Regions from separate parts of the Homo sapiens genome. Here all the other regions are linked to region 3. The links are contacts of gene promoters, found by promoter capture Hi-C in blood cells and fetal thymus (Javierre and others, 2016). All regions are on one chromosome and are shown on one strand. Each heading gives the region's core, a stretch centred on a gene start or on the middle of the fragment in contact. The rest is flanking DNA. Distances are from core to core; before and after follow the strand shown. Region 1 overlaps PPP2R5C (protein phosphatase 2 regulatory subunit B'gamma). Region 2 overlaps PPP2R5C (protein phosphatase 2 regulatory subunit B'gamma). Region 3 holds the start of LINC00239 (long intergenic non-protein coding RNA 239).

Region 1 (3,926 bases), core at 35-2,534, 180 kb before region 3:
CTCCCGGACCCTGGCAGCCCCGGCAGCTGGAACTGCCGGCAGCTCCGGGACGTCCGGCCATCGGCGCAGACTCACCAGAGCACACTGGCACCCGCTGCTGGGGTGGGAAGGAGGGTTGGCTGCTAATGTGGCAGAATTCAGCTGATTTTTAATGATAAAAGGCTGGGCTTACAGAAACCTCATACAAAGAAAGAGGACATCAAAACGTCATACTTAATCTATTTCCAATCTAATTTCCTTTCTTTTAGAACTAATTTCATATGAAAAAGAAAGGGAAATGCTGTTTGAGTGACAGCATCTATGATATCTGAGAGAGGAGGCACAGTCTCAGGCTGTATTCAAGTTTTCTTTTTACCACAGTATATGCATAAGATTCAGATCTTATTTAAAAAGCAGAGGAAAAAAGTCAATTCTGTGGTAAAACGATATGGGGCAAAATAAGTACTTGTACAAAAGGAGGGTTACAAAGTTTAAAAGTACTTTTTATTGCAGACATTTTCATATACAACGTTAGTGAAATCGAGACCCCCCCCATGGTGAAGACATATATTCCTATCTTATAAAAACATTCAAGTAACCCTGGGCGTTTTCATGTTATTCTCTTTTTTAGTACCTGGGGATTGGCTTTGGCTAGATTTTCTATTTTAACCCATGCTTCTTCCCGTTCTTTCATTTTTAGCTTCTCTCTGAAAAACAGTAAAATGTCATCTGTGTTAGAGATGCATCAGACACAAGAACACACTGAAGGGGAAAAGGCACAGGCATGTTGAGCCCAGCCAGCGGCTCCTCCCGCAGCCCCCCTGCTCCATTTCCCCACACTTACGTGCTGAGCACAGCATGAAAAACGAACTGAGATTTAAACATGAGAAAATATAAAAAAATTTAACATGTCCAAGATTGGAATTCTTAAAAGAAATCTTATATAAGTACGTCTTATGTCTCAATCCTTCCCCCTTCCCCTGGTTAGATGTTTCTTCATGGGACCCACATAATTTTGACAAGAAGCTCATATATCCACTGAAAAAACGAGTATGCAGTACAGTGTAAAGGGACCAGTACTGTAAAAGGAGCCAGCATTCCCATTCCTATAATATTAAAAAGGAAACGTCTTAAGAGCCAGGAGACCTGGGTTGTTGACTGACTCCACTGCGAGTCACATGACTTTCAATCGCTTAACTCAGATCCAAGTTTTTTTTTTTTTTTGAGACAGGGCCTCACTCTGTCGCCCAGACTGGAGTGCAGTAGCAGGATCTTGGCTCACTGCAACCTCCACCTCCCGAGCTCAAGCAATTCTCCTGCCTCAACCTCCCGAGTAGCTGGGATTACAGGTGCGTGCTACTACCGCCCGGCTAATTTTCGTACTTTTAGTAGAGATGGGGTTTCACAATATTGGCCAGGCTGGTCTCGAACTCCTGACCTCAAATGATCCACCAGCCATAACCTCCCAAAGTGCTGGGATTACAGGTGTGAGCCACTGCGCCCGGCCAGGATCCAAGTTTTTCAACCCAGAAAATGTACTACACAACCTTTAAGGTCCTGTTGGGAAAGCTGTGGGATTCCACGAGAGGAGGATCTGCCATCAGAAGGCCCTGCTGCTTGCATGCTTCCTACCTGCGAACTGCACTGAGAGCTGAGATGAGAACAGACCATGCAGCTGGCAGCTCTAGAGGAATGGCTGGTCTGTCTCCCCGGCCCTTTCCTGACTGACTTGTCATCTCTCATGCTCTATAGTTCACTTAGGTGTATTTTGTGTTCTTTTATTTCCCCACACTACCCAGAATATAAACCCCAAAAGGGCAAGGATTTTTTTTTTGAGACGGAGTCTCGCTCTGTCGCCCAGGCTGGAGTGCAGTGGCGTGATCTTGGCTCACTGCAAGCTCCGCCTCCAGGTTCACGCCATCCTCCTGCCTCAGCCCGAGTAGCTGGGACTACAGGCACCCGCCACCACACCCGGCTGATTTTTTTTTGTATTTTTTTTTTTTTTGAGACGGAGTCTCTCTCTGTCTCCCAGGCTGGAGTGCAGTGGTGTGAGCTCAGCTCACTGCAAGCTCCGCCTCCCAGGTTCACACCATTCTCCTGCCTCAGACTCTGAGTAGCTGGGACCACAGGCGCCTGCCACCACGCCCGGCTAATTTTTTGTATTTTCAGTAGAGACGGGGTTTCACTGTGTTCGCCAGGCTTGTCTCGAACTCCTGACCTCAGGTGATCTGCCTGCTTTGGCCTCCCAAAGTGCTGGGATTACAGGCATGAGCCACCATGCCCGGCCTTTTTTTTTGTATTTTTAGTAGAGACGGGGTTTCATTGTGTTAGCCAGGATGGTCTCGATCTCCTGACCTCGTGATCTGCCTGCATCGGCCTCCCAAAGCGCTGGGATTACAGGCATGAGCCACCACGCCTGGCCCTTTTTTGGTATTTTTTAGTAGAGATGGGGTTTCACCGTGTTAGCCAGCATGGTCTCAATCTCCTGACCTTGTGATCCACCCGCCTTGGCCTCCCAAAGTGCTGGGATTACAGGCGTGAGCCACCGCACCCGGCCCAGGGGCAAGGATTTTTGTGGGTTTTATTCATTGCTATATTGCCAGAATCTAAAACAGGGCCTGGTGTATAAGGTAAATATTCACATATTTGTCTAAGGAATGACTAAATGGCAGTTGTTTCATATATATACACACACACACACACACATAGATACACACATATGTATACAGTGTATTTTGAATTACATTCGTGCAAAGCTTATCTACCTTAGCCAGTTTTAAGTGACAAGCAAAAAATAAAATCTGCCAATAGTCCATACTCAACTTGGAAGAAGTGACCTCCAACAACTATTTAATCACATTATTACTTGCACAGCCTAGGGACGAAGTACTTTGTCACTTAGATCATCCCTGGACACATGTGGGCTCAAAGGCACGAGGGCAGGACCCTGATTTTGCAAAGGACAGACTAGATTCCAGAGAACACCCACATCGCTGAGTTCATTAAATCAGAATAAAGCTACATTGAAATGAAGATTCTTGCTCTCTGGGATAAACCTTATAGGATATAATTCAAATCCCTGCCTTATAAACATGAAAATGGACTACACATTATAGCCTTTAAGCCCATTATAGCCCAAGAAAAGAAAAAATTCTGAATGTTAAATTCTTGCTTACATAAGCACTTTTTGCAAAGATGATTAATCTGGCAATACAAGGGGGGAGAATAGCTACCTTTAAACACCTGTTCTTTCAAAATACGTTATTATAACACAGTTTTAATTTGCTTTCCAAGTATGAAAGGCTTGGTTTTGCTTTCGAGTGAAGAATACCGTTTTAGGACAAAACAGTGGAAGAGGTTTACTTAGGATTAAGAAAAAAATCCTGGAAACAGTAACTTGTGAAAGGAACAACTCACTTTAGTTTCTCTGCTTTGAACTGTTGTGTACAGTCATCAAATAGCTTTTGGTTCATCTCCATGAAGAGCTTCAGGGCGTTGTATATCAAGCCATGTATTGTCCTATAAAGAAAACCGCACGGTGAGCCTGGGAGCACGCATTCCTGCTGAGCCCTCGCCTCTCCACTCTCAGGCTGCTCCATATTCCAACAGTCCCACATCGCACAGGATCCCTAAGGTCTAAAATGCAAGGCCTGCTCATTCCGCGTTACTTGTTTTCTGACAGCCACACATCCCGAGACTTTCTTCACAGTGGCTCTCACATAGCCACAGAGGCCACTCCACTCACTGTCTCCAGCTGACAGTAGCCAAAAACGACCTTGCTCAGAAACTGAATTAAAAACATTGAAACTTGAACAAATATAGTTAAGACAAAATTATAAAGAGGACAATAATGGCAATACTTGATTTCCTATAAATGTCAGTTTCTTTTCATCTTATTCCCTGAGGACAGAAAAATTAATTTTAATAATGGCAACACAGAGCTTTGA
Region 2 (3,946 bases), core at 1,235-3,734, 140 kb before region 3:
AAAAAAAAAAAAAAAGCCCAATTGAAAAACAGGCAAACAATTGGAACAGACAATTCACCAATGAAGATATACAAACGACAAAAAGCGCAGGGAAAAAATGCTTGGGCCAGGTGTGGTGGCTCACGCCTGGAATCCCAGCACCTTCATAGGCTGAGGCAGGGGGATCACTTGAGCTCAGGAGTTCGAGACCAGCTTGGGCAACACAGTGAGACCTTGTCTCTACTAAAAATACAAAAATGAGGTGGGTGTGATGGGCGCTTGCAGTCCCAGCTACTCAGGAGGCTGAGGTGAGAGGATCACCTGAGCCTGGGAGGTGGAGGCTGCAGTGAGCCATGATTGAGCCACTGCACTCCAGCCTGGCTGGCAGAGCGAGACCCTGTCTCCAAAAAACAAACAAACAAGCCTGGCATAATTAGTCATTAAGGAAATGCAAATTAAAATCAAAATGAGATAAAAGGACTGATGACACCAAATATTGACAAAGATACGGGAGGCATGAGAACTCACGCACTGTTGGGGGAATCACACGGGGCAGCCACTTTGGAAAACGGTTTGGCAGTTCCTTAGAAAGCTCAACACACACTTACCATTCACCTAGCGATTGCATCCCTATGTGTTTACCCAAGTTAAATAAAAGCTTATGTCTAAAATCGGTATGTAAGTATTTATAAAAGTTTTATTGCTCCAAATAAAACTGGAAACACCTCAAATATCCCTCCATAGGAAATGGATAAGCAAATGGTGTTACTTTTATATAATGAGACAACACTGAGAAGGAAAAGGAACAAACTGTGTGACAACATGGACGAATGTCCAATGCATCAAGCTAAGCGAAAGAAGCTAGACCCAAAGGCTATACACTGAATCCATTTCTATGGAGTTTCCATTCTGGAAAAGACAAAATGATGTGATAGAGAACAGACTAGTGAGGGGCAGAGAGAAAGGAAGGGGAAGGCTCTGACTACAAAGTGAGCATAAAGCCATGTTTCTGGAGGCTGAAGAAACTGTTCTTCTACTCGGGAGGCTGAGGCAGAAGAATCACTTGAACACAGGAGGCGGAGGTTGCAGTGAGCTGATATGGTGCCACTGCACTCCAGCCAGGCAACAGAGACTCCGTCTCAAAAACAAACAAACAAACAAACAAACAAAACCAAAAGAAACTGTTCTATATCCTGACTGTGGTGCGGAAGACGTGACTATACACATTTATCAAAGTTCCGAGAACTGGCCACAAGAAAGAGTGAATTTCACTATATGTAAATAAAAAATTAATTTAAAAAAAGTTATGGAAAGATATTCACTAGGTCATAAGTTCCCAAAACTTCTTGGTTCACAATGCCCTTGGTGTCTTAGTAATTTCTTCACTGCACCCCTAGACCAAAAGAAATACCTAACAAGTTTGGACATCTGAAAACACCCAGCTTTACTGAGATATAATTTATATACAATTAAATGTACATATTTAAAGTGTAAAATTTGATATTTAACATATGCATATATCTGTGAAACAATCATATAATCAGATAATGAACATACTCATCATCCCAAAAGTTTCTCAGCAGCCTTCTGAAAATACAATAAACATGAATTGGCTGATTGGAGGTAGAGATGGGTAGAACTGGGGAGGGGTGAAGTAGGAAAAAGATTAACTTTTTAAAATGCTTTCGTATTTGTTTCATTTGTTATCACATAAGCATGTATTTCTTTTATAATTTAAAAACATCAAAGGAAAATCTCAAAATCGTAAGAACAAACAAACCTCTAAAAAACAGCTTACTGATATTTAAAGTAGAAAAATCATTCTCTGGATTTCAAAAAGTACTTGGGAATGCATGATTTAAATCCTCACTTGAAATAAATTTGACTGCAACTCCATTGGTCAATGTACTATCCCTCTTAATTCAACACATTCTTTCCTCTCCCAAACTATCATCACCCTTATAGCAAGTAAAACTTTCCAGAACACACTGTAAATATCAGCTATAAAAATAGAAGAAGGAACGTGCCCCACATCAGTCCCTAAGTGAAGCACAGGACACCCATCTGGGGGTGCAGGGTGTGAGACCTCCCCCAGGACCCGGCCAACAGATCCTAAGAACACTCTCATGCCCATAAAACGTGTAAGTCAACATCAAATCACTTACAGACAGTGCGGATTAAAATAATGTGATCAACTAGTTTTCCCTGGAAACCAACAAGAGTCCTGATAAAAACAGTACTATATTACATACGGATAGCTTGTTTTTATTTTATCTTTTTAATTAATTAATTAATTTTTTTGATGGAATCTTGCTCTGTCGCTCAGGCTGGAGTGCAGTGGTGCAATCTTGGCTCACTGCAACCTCCACCTCCAGGGTTCCAGCAATCCTTCTGCCTCAGCCTCCCGAGTAGCTGGGACTACAGGTGCCCGCCACCATGCCTGGCTAATTTTCATATTTTTAGTAGAGATGAGGTTACACCATACTGGTCAGGCTGGTCTCGAGCTCCTGACCTCAGGTGATCCACCTGCCTCGGCTTCCCAAAGTGCTGGGATTACAGGCATGAGCTACCGCGCCTGGCCGCTTGTTTTTATTTTTAAGAAAGAAAAATATCTTTACTGGTTTTTGATGATGACAAATGTGGTACATAATTATTAATTTTTTTTTTTGAGGCAGAGTCTTGCTCTGTTGCCCAGGTAGGAGTGCAGTGGCACAATCATACCTCATTGCAGCCTTAAGCTCCTGAGCTCAAACAAGCCTCCCACCTCAGCCCCGACCGAGTAGCTAGGCATATAGGTGCAGGCGTGCGCCACCACACCCAGCTATTAAAAAACTTTCTCTTTCTTCTTGCTTTTTTTTTTTTGACAGAGTCTCGCTCTGTCGCCCAGGCTGGAGTACAGTTGCATGATCTCAGCTTACTGCAACCTCTGCCTCCTGGGTTCAAGCAATTCTCTTGCCTCAGCCTCCCGAGTAGCTGAGATTACAGGCATGCGCCACCACGCCTGGCTAATTTTTGTAATTTTAGTAGAGACAGGGTTCCACCACGTTGGCCAGGCTGCTCTTGAACTCCTAACTTCAGGTGATCTGTCCGCTTCAGCCTCCCAAAGTGCTGGGATTACAGGTGTGAGCCACCGTGCCCGGCCTAAAAAAATTTTTTTTGTAGACACAAGGTCTTGCTACGTTGCCCAGGCTGGTCTCCAACTCCTGATCTCAAGTGATCCTCCTGCCCTGGCCTCCCAAAGTTGGATTATAGGCATGAGCCACTGTGCCTGGCCCATTCTGAATTTTTTTAAAAATTACAAAAGTGTATAGTAAAAGGGAAAAATTAATGATACCACCCAAAGACACCTACTATTAACAGTTTGTACTATATTCCTTCAGCTTTTTTATTTATTTATTTATTTTTTTGAGACGGAGTCTTGCTCTGTCCGTCAGGTTGGAGCACAGTAGCGTGATCTTGGCTCACTGCAACCTCCGCCTCCAGGGTTTAAGCGATTCTCCTGCCTCAGCCTCCCAAGTAGCTGGGATTACAGGTGTGCAACACCATGCCCAGCTAATTTTTGTATTTTTAGTAGAGATGGGGTTTCACCATGTTGGCGAGGCCTTCAGCTTTATTTTAAAAATCTATCGATAAAATGGAACCAAATCAATCTGTGGTGTGGATGGTGCCACAGGGCTGGGTCACCGTACTCTGTAGAGTATTTCACAAGTTACTTTCTCTCCCTAAGTTTGATTTTATTTTCATGAATTTATTTATATGTTACAAACATGAAATCATACTTCAGACCATGTATTTTTAATCTTCCAATCACCATTTAAACTAATCTAACTAACTCTCTATGAAGTAGTTCCACAGCATGATAACTTTCTAAATAAGAAAATAGAGGCTGGGCGCTGGCTCACGCCAGTTATCCCAGTACTCTGGGAGGCTGAGGTGGGCAGATCACCTGAGATCAGGAGTTTGAGAT
Region 3 (3,649 bases), core at 885-3,384:
GGAGAGGAACATTCTGTGAAATAATAAATCTGCTGGTTTCTATTCTTCTCCCTTTGCAGACTGAGTTTTTATTATTTTGATCCCAGTACCCATTAGAAACACAGTGTCTAAATATTGAAATGCTTTGCTTCAAAAGCTGCTAAGATACAGTGGCAAAGGTAGCCTTGCAATGAGGTTTTATCTCCAGAGTCCCAAGTTTTTGAGACAAATCCAATGACGCAGATCTTGTGGTCAAGGATGATGCAATGGCGCTCCAGGAACAATATCAGGCTCTGTGACTTGGGTGCCTTCTGGGTGTGTGGCGTGGTCTCGGTCTGACAATCTCTAGAACAACCCTACGAGGTGGTAATTATTATTCTCATGCTGCAAGGGATATCTCCCACCTCCTAGGTGGACTCAGGTCTTGTGGGGCTTAATGCTTTTAAATTTGGGCTGCCTTTTGAAGGGAAAAGACTACAAAATTATGAATACAAAATGAGGTTAAGGTCTTGGGAGGGGCCCATGCAAGCTGGGGGCTCTGCAGGTAAGCTTGTTTAGCTTCCCAGCAAATCCACCTCTGAGCTTGCAAATTACAAAGCTGGAATTTGAACTCACATCTGCTGGATGCAAAGTCCGAGGTCTTCCTGTAGCATGACCGTCTTCCTGTGTGATGAGAAACATCAGGCTGCCGAGGCCAAACAGTGGGTGCGTCACTTTCCAATGAGGCAGGTGTGCGGGACAGGAAGTGGGAGGTTCTCCTTGCAGGGGAGCGGCTGCTGCCAACATCCCAGCTGGTACCTGTCCCTGAGAATGGTTTGGCAGGTGGGGGCCACTTGAAGTCTCTGCTCCTACACCCCGTCACCCCTCCCAGGCTGCTTTCAGAGGAGGGCAAAGGGTATTCATTCCAGCCTCCAATTTCTTCCTCCCACTCCTCGAAAGCATTTAAGTGAGGAAGGCAGGGAAAACGTAGATGATTCTGCTATTGACAGGAGGCCTTTTTTTCCTGCTGGAAGTAAAAGGAGACACTCTAGCTGGGCAGCCAGCCCCACCCTCCAGGGCTCCATCTGGCCTGGCTGAGGCTGGCCAGCCCCTGCTGTGCATGGAGGGGTGCTGGGAAGCCTACCTTGCTTCACACTTTCCTCTTCCACACCCGGCCTGTGACTCATGCCTGAAACGCCTCCGTTCAAGCAATTCTTCCTTTTATTGTGAAGCACTGCTCTCTTCCGGCTCCTCCCCTAAGTCACCACGCAGGGGAGATTTAAGGGAGAGGTTATTTCCCCACCGTGTTCAGGGACAACCCTGTGATCATGGTTTTGGTCACATAGCTTCCAAGTGAGTGTTGTGCAAACATTTGCTAGGATCTCTCGGGGAGCCTGTTAGAAAAGAAACTCCTGAGCCTGCTCCAGAGCTTCTGTTCAGCAGGCCTGAGGTGGGACCATACACCTGTCTTTTCAGCAAGCCCCCCCCCACCTCTGAGGATGCACCCCAAAGCTAGAGAATTCCTGCTCTGAGCCATCTCTGAAAGCACCAAGAGCCAGGTTTGGTTTTTTGTTGTTGTTGTTGTTGTTGTTGTTGTTTTGTTTTTTTTTTAATTACACCCAGACCTGGGTACCTGAGCAATCACTGTCTCTGGAATCAGTGCAAAGTTACCGGGAGCTGCAGAGGCCCAGACAGACTGGAAGAGGGGAGAGCTTGGCTCTAACCCATGCAGCCTCCCCATTGCCCAAGTCCACCCCCAGACCACCTCCCTGCATTCAACCACGAGCTTTGTAGAGGGCAGGCATGCCCCAGGGGCTCTCAGCATCACCCCCCTGCCCCTACCTGTGACCAGAGTCTCCCTGGACTCTCAGCTCTGTCTTCCCAACTCGAAGAGCCTGCCAGGCCCCACCTGGGTACCCTTGTCCATACTGTAGCTTGGAAACCCTCTCAAGAAAGGAAGCTGGGTTAATTGCAGGCTCACTTTATTTTCCACATTCTCAGAAATCATTGTGCCTAGTTACCTGATATCCAGTGTATTAGTCTGTCCTCATGCTGCTGATAAAGACATACCCGAGACTGGGTAAATTATAAGGAAAAACAGGTTTAATAGGTTTAATGGACTCACAGTTCCACGGGCCTGGGGAAGCCTTACAATCATGGCAGAAGGTGAAAGGCACATCTTATATGGTGGTGGACAAGAGAGAATGGAACCAAGTGGAGAGGGAAACCCCTTATAAAACCATCAGATCTCGTGAGACTTGTTCACTACCACGAGAACAGTATGGGGGAAACCACCCCCATGATTCAAATATCTCCCACCAGGTCCCTCCCACAACACATGGGAATTATGGGAGCTACAATTCAAGATGAGATTTGGGTGGGGACATAGCAAAACCATATCATCCAGTGTCTTGAGAACTCTTGTTTTATATATTTGGTCCAATTTATTTTGACTTTTTCAGGCAGGAGAGGAAATCCAGTCTCTACATTCCGTCTTGTTTGGGAGTGAAAGTGTTCATTTTCTTTTAAAACAGACAATATCCTTCCAAATCTATAGTTAGTTCACTCATCCATCACTCATCCATAACCACTGTTAATATTTTGGTCTACATTCTAAGATATTTTTTTTCTGTGCATATGCGTGCACGTAGCAGGGTCACAAAATCACTCACAATACATCAGATGTGCAAAGAAAATAGAGTGTCTTCATTTTCCTACTTAATTAATCTGATCTTTCTTGAAAGGTACTCTCTGCTGGGTAATACAATGGGGAGAAACATCCATTCTAGTAACCTTGGTCTAATACAAACATTTAACCAGTTCTTTGAGCAGCTCAGCATTCTGAGGCTGAAGTGTTTGGCCAGTGGGGCTTCTGATGGCTGCCACTGTCTACTCCTCTACTCCAGATTGTGTCTGGGCACACAGCTGGTGGGCTGCAGGATTTGGGGGTTCTTTTGGTAGCCAGGAGGAAGGGGTCCTCTGGTCCACACATGTTCTCCAAGTTTCCCTGAGTTTGGCTGCAGAGCAGTTGGCCTGGGCTACTCCATGGAACGGAGTGGTGGCTGTCGAGGAGCAATGAGTCATGGGAGATCAGGTCACGTAGGGTCTTGTGGGCACTGCGAAGACTCTGGCTTTATTTTTCTTTTTTGAGACAAGGTCTCGCTCTGTCACCCATGCTGGAGTGCAGTGGCATGATCTTGGCTCACTACAGCCTCGACCTCCCAAGTTCACGCAATCCTCCTGCCTCAGCACCTCAAGTAGTTGGGATTACAGCCATGCGCCCCTACACATGGCTAATTTTTGTACTTTTTGTAGAGATGGGGTTTCACCATGTTGCCCAGGCTGGTCTTGAACTCCTGAGCTTAAGTGATCTGCCCACCTTGGCCTCCCAAAGTGTTGGGATTACAGGCATGAGCCACCGCACCTGGCCAAGACTTTGGATTTTATCCCAAATGAAATAGGGAAGCCACTGGAGGGCTTCAATGTGGTGGTAGGAGGCAAATACTGATTGAAAAGGTTCAAGAGAAAATGGGAGGAGAAAAATTGAAGATAATAAGAATAGATACTTCCAGCTGGGTGCAGGGGCTCACACCTATAAGCTCAGCACTTTGGGAAGTTGAGGTAGGGATTGCTTGAGGCCAAGAGTTCCAGAGCAACCTGGGAAACATAGCAAGACTCTGTCTCTACAAAT

Evidence for each region. Contacts are between HindIII fragments. The CHiCAGO score rates a contact against its expected background, and 5 or more counts as called.
Region 1: a fragment that was not itself captured here is called in contact with the fragment with the promoter of LINC00239 in region 3 in 1 of 17 cell types (total CD8 T cells); the score reaches 5.0 in total CD8 T cells.
Region 2: a contact is called between a fragment that was not itself captured here and the fragment with the promoter of LINC00239 in region 3, in 3 of 17 cell types (total CD8 T cells, total CD4 T cells and naive CD4 T cells). The highest score is 6.5, in total CD8 T cells.

The regions. Positions count from the first base shown.
Region 1 is chr14:101,909,161-101,913,086 of GRCh38, reverse strand. It overlaps PPP2R5C (protein phosphatase 2 regulatory subunit B'gamma), which reads right to left. Exons shown (of 16, transcript NM_001352913.2): 13 at 3,397-3,498; 14 at 614-686. Among named protein-coding and RNA genes, the nearest start is that of DYNC1H1, 53 kb to the left of the region's middle. The HindIII fragment of the contact is 2,907 bases long and covers 1-2,737 here.
Region 2 is chr14:101,866,110-101,870,055 of GRCh38, reverse strand. The region is part of intron 4 of PPP2R5C (protein phosphatase 2 regulatory subunit B'gamma); the gene reads right to left. Among named protein-coding and RNA genes, the nearest start is that of DYNC1H1, 96 kb to the left of the region's middle. The HindIII fragment of the contact is 3,689 bases long and covers 640-3,946 here.
Region 3 is chr14:101,728,922-101,732,570 of GRCh38, reverse strand. LINC00239 (long intergenic non-protein coding RNA 239) reads right to left here and starts at 2,134. Exons shown (of 4, transcript NR_026774.1): 1 at 2,084-2,134; 2 at 1,103-1,214; 3 at 595-783; 4 at 46-335. It overlaps LINC02320 (long intergenic non-protein coding RNA 2320), which reads left to right and starts at 1,265. Exons shown (of 6, transcript NR_184269.1): 1 at 1,265-1,517. RefSeq lists enhancers at 568-667, 1,398-1,457, 500-1,699. The HindIII fragment of the contact is 16,455 bases long and covers 531-3,649 here.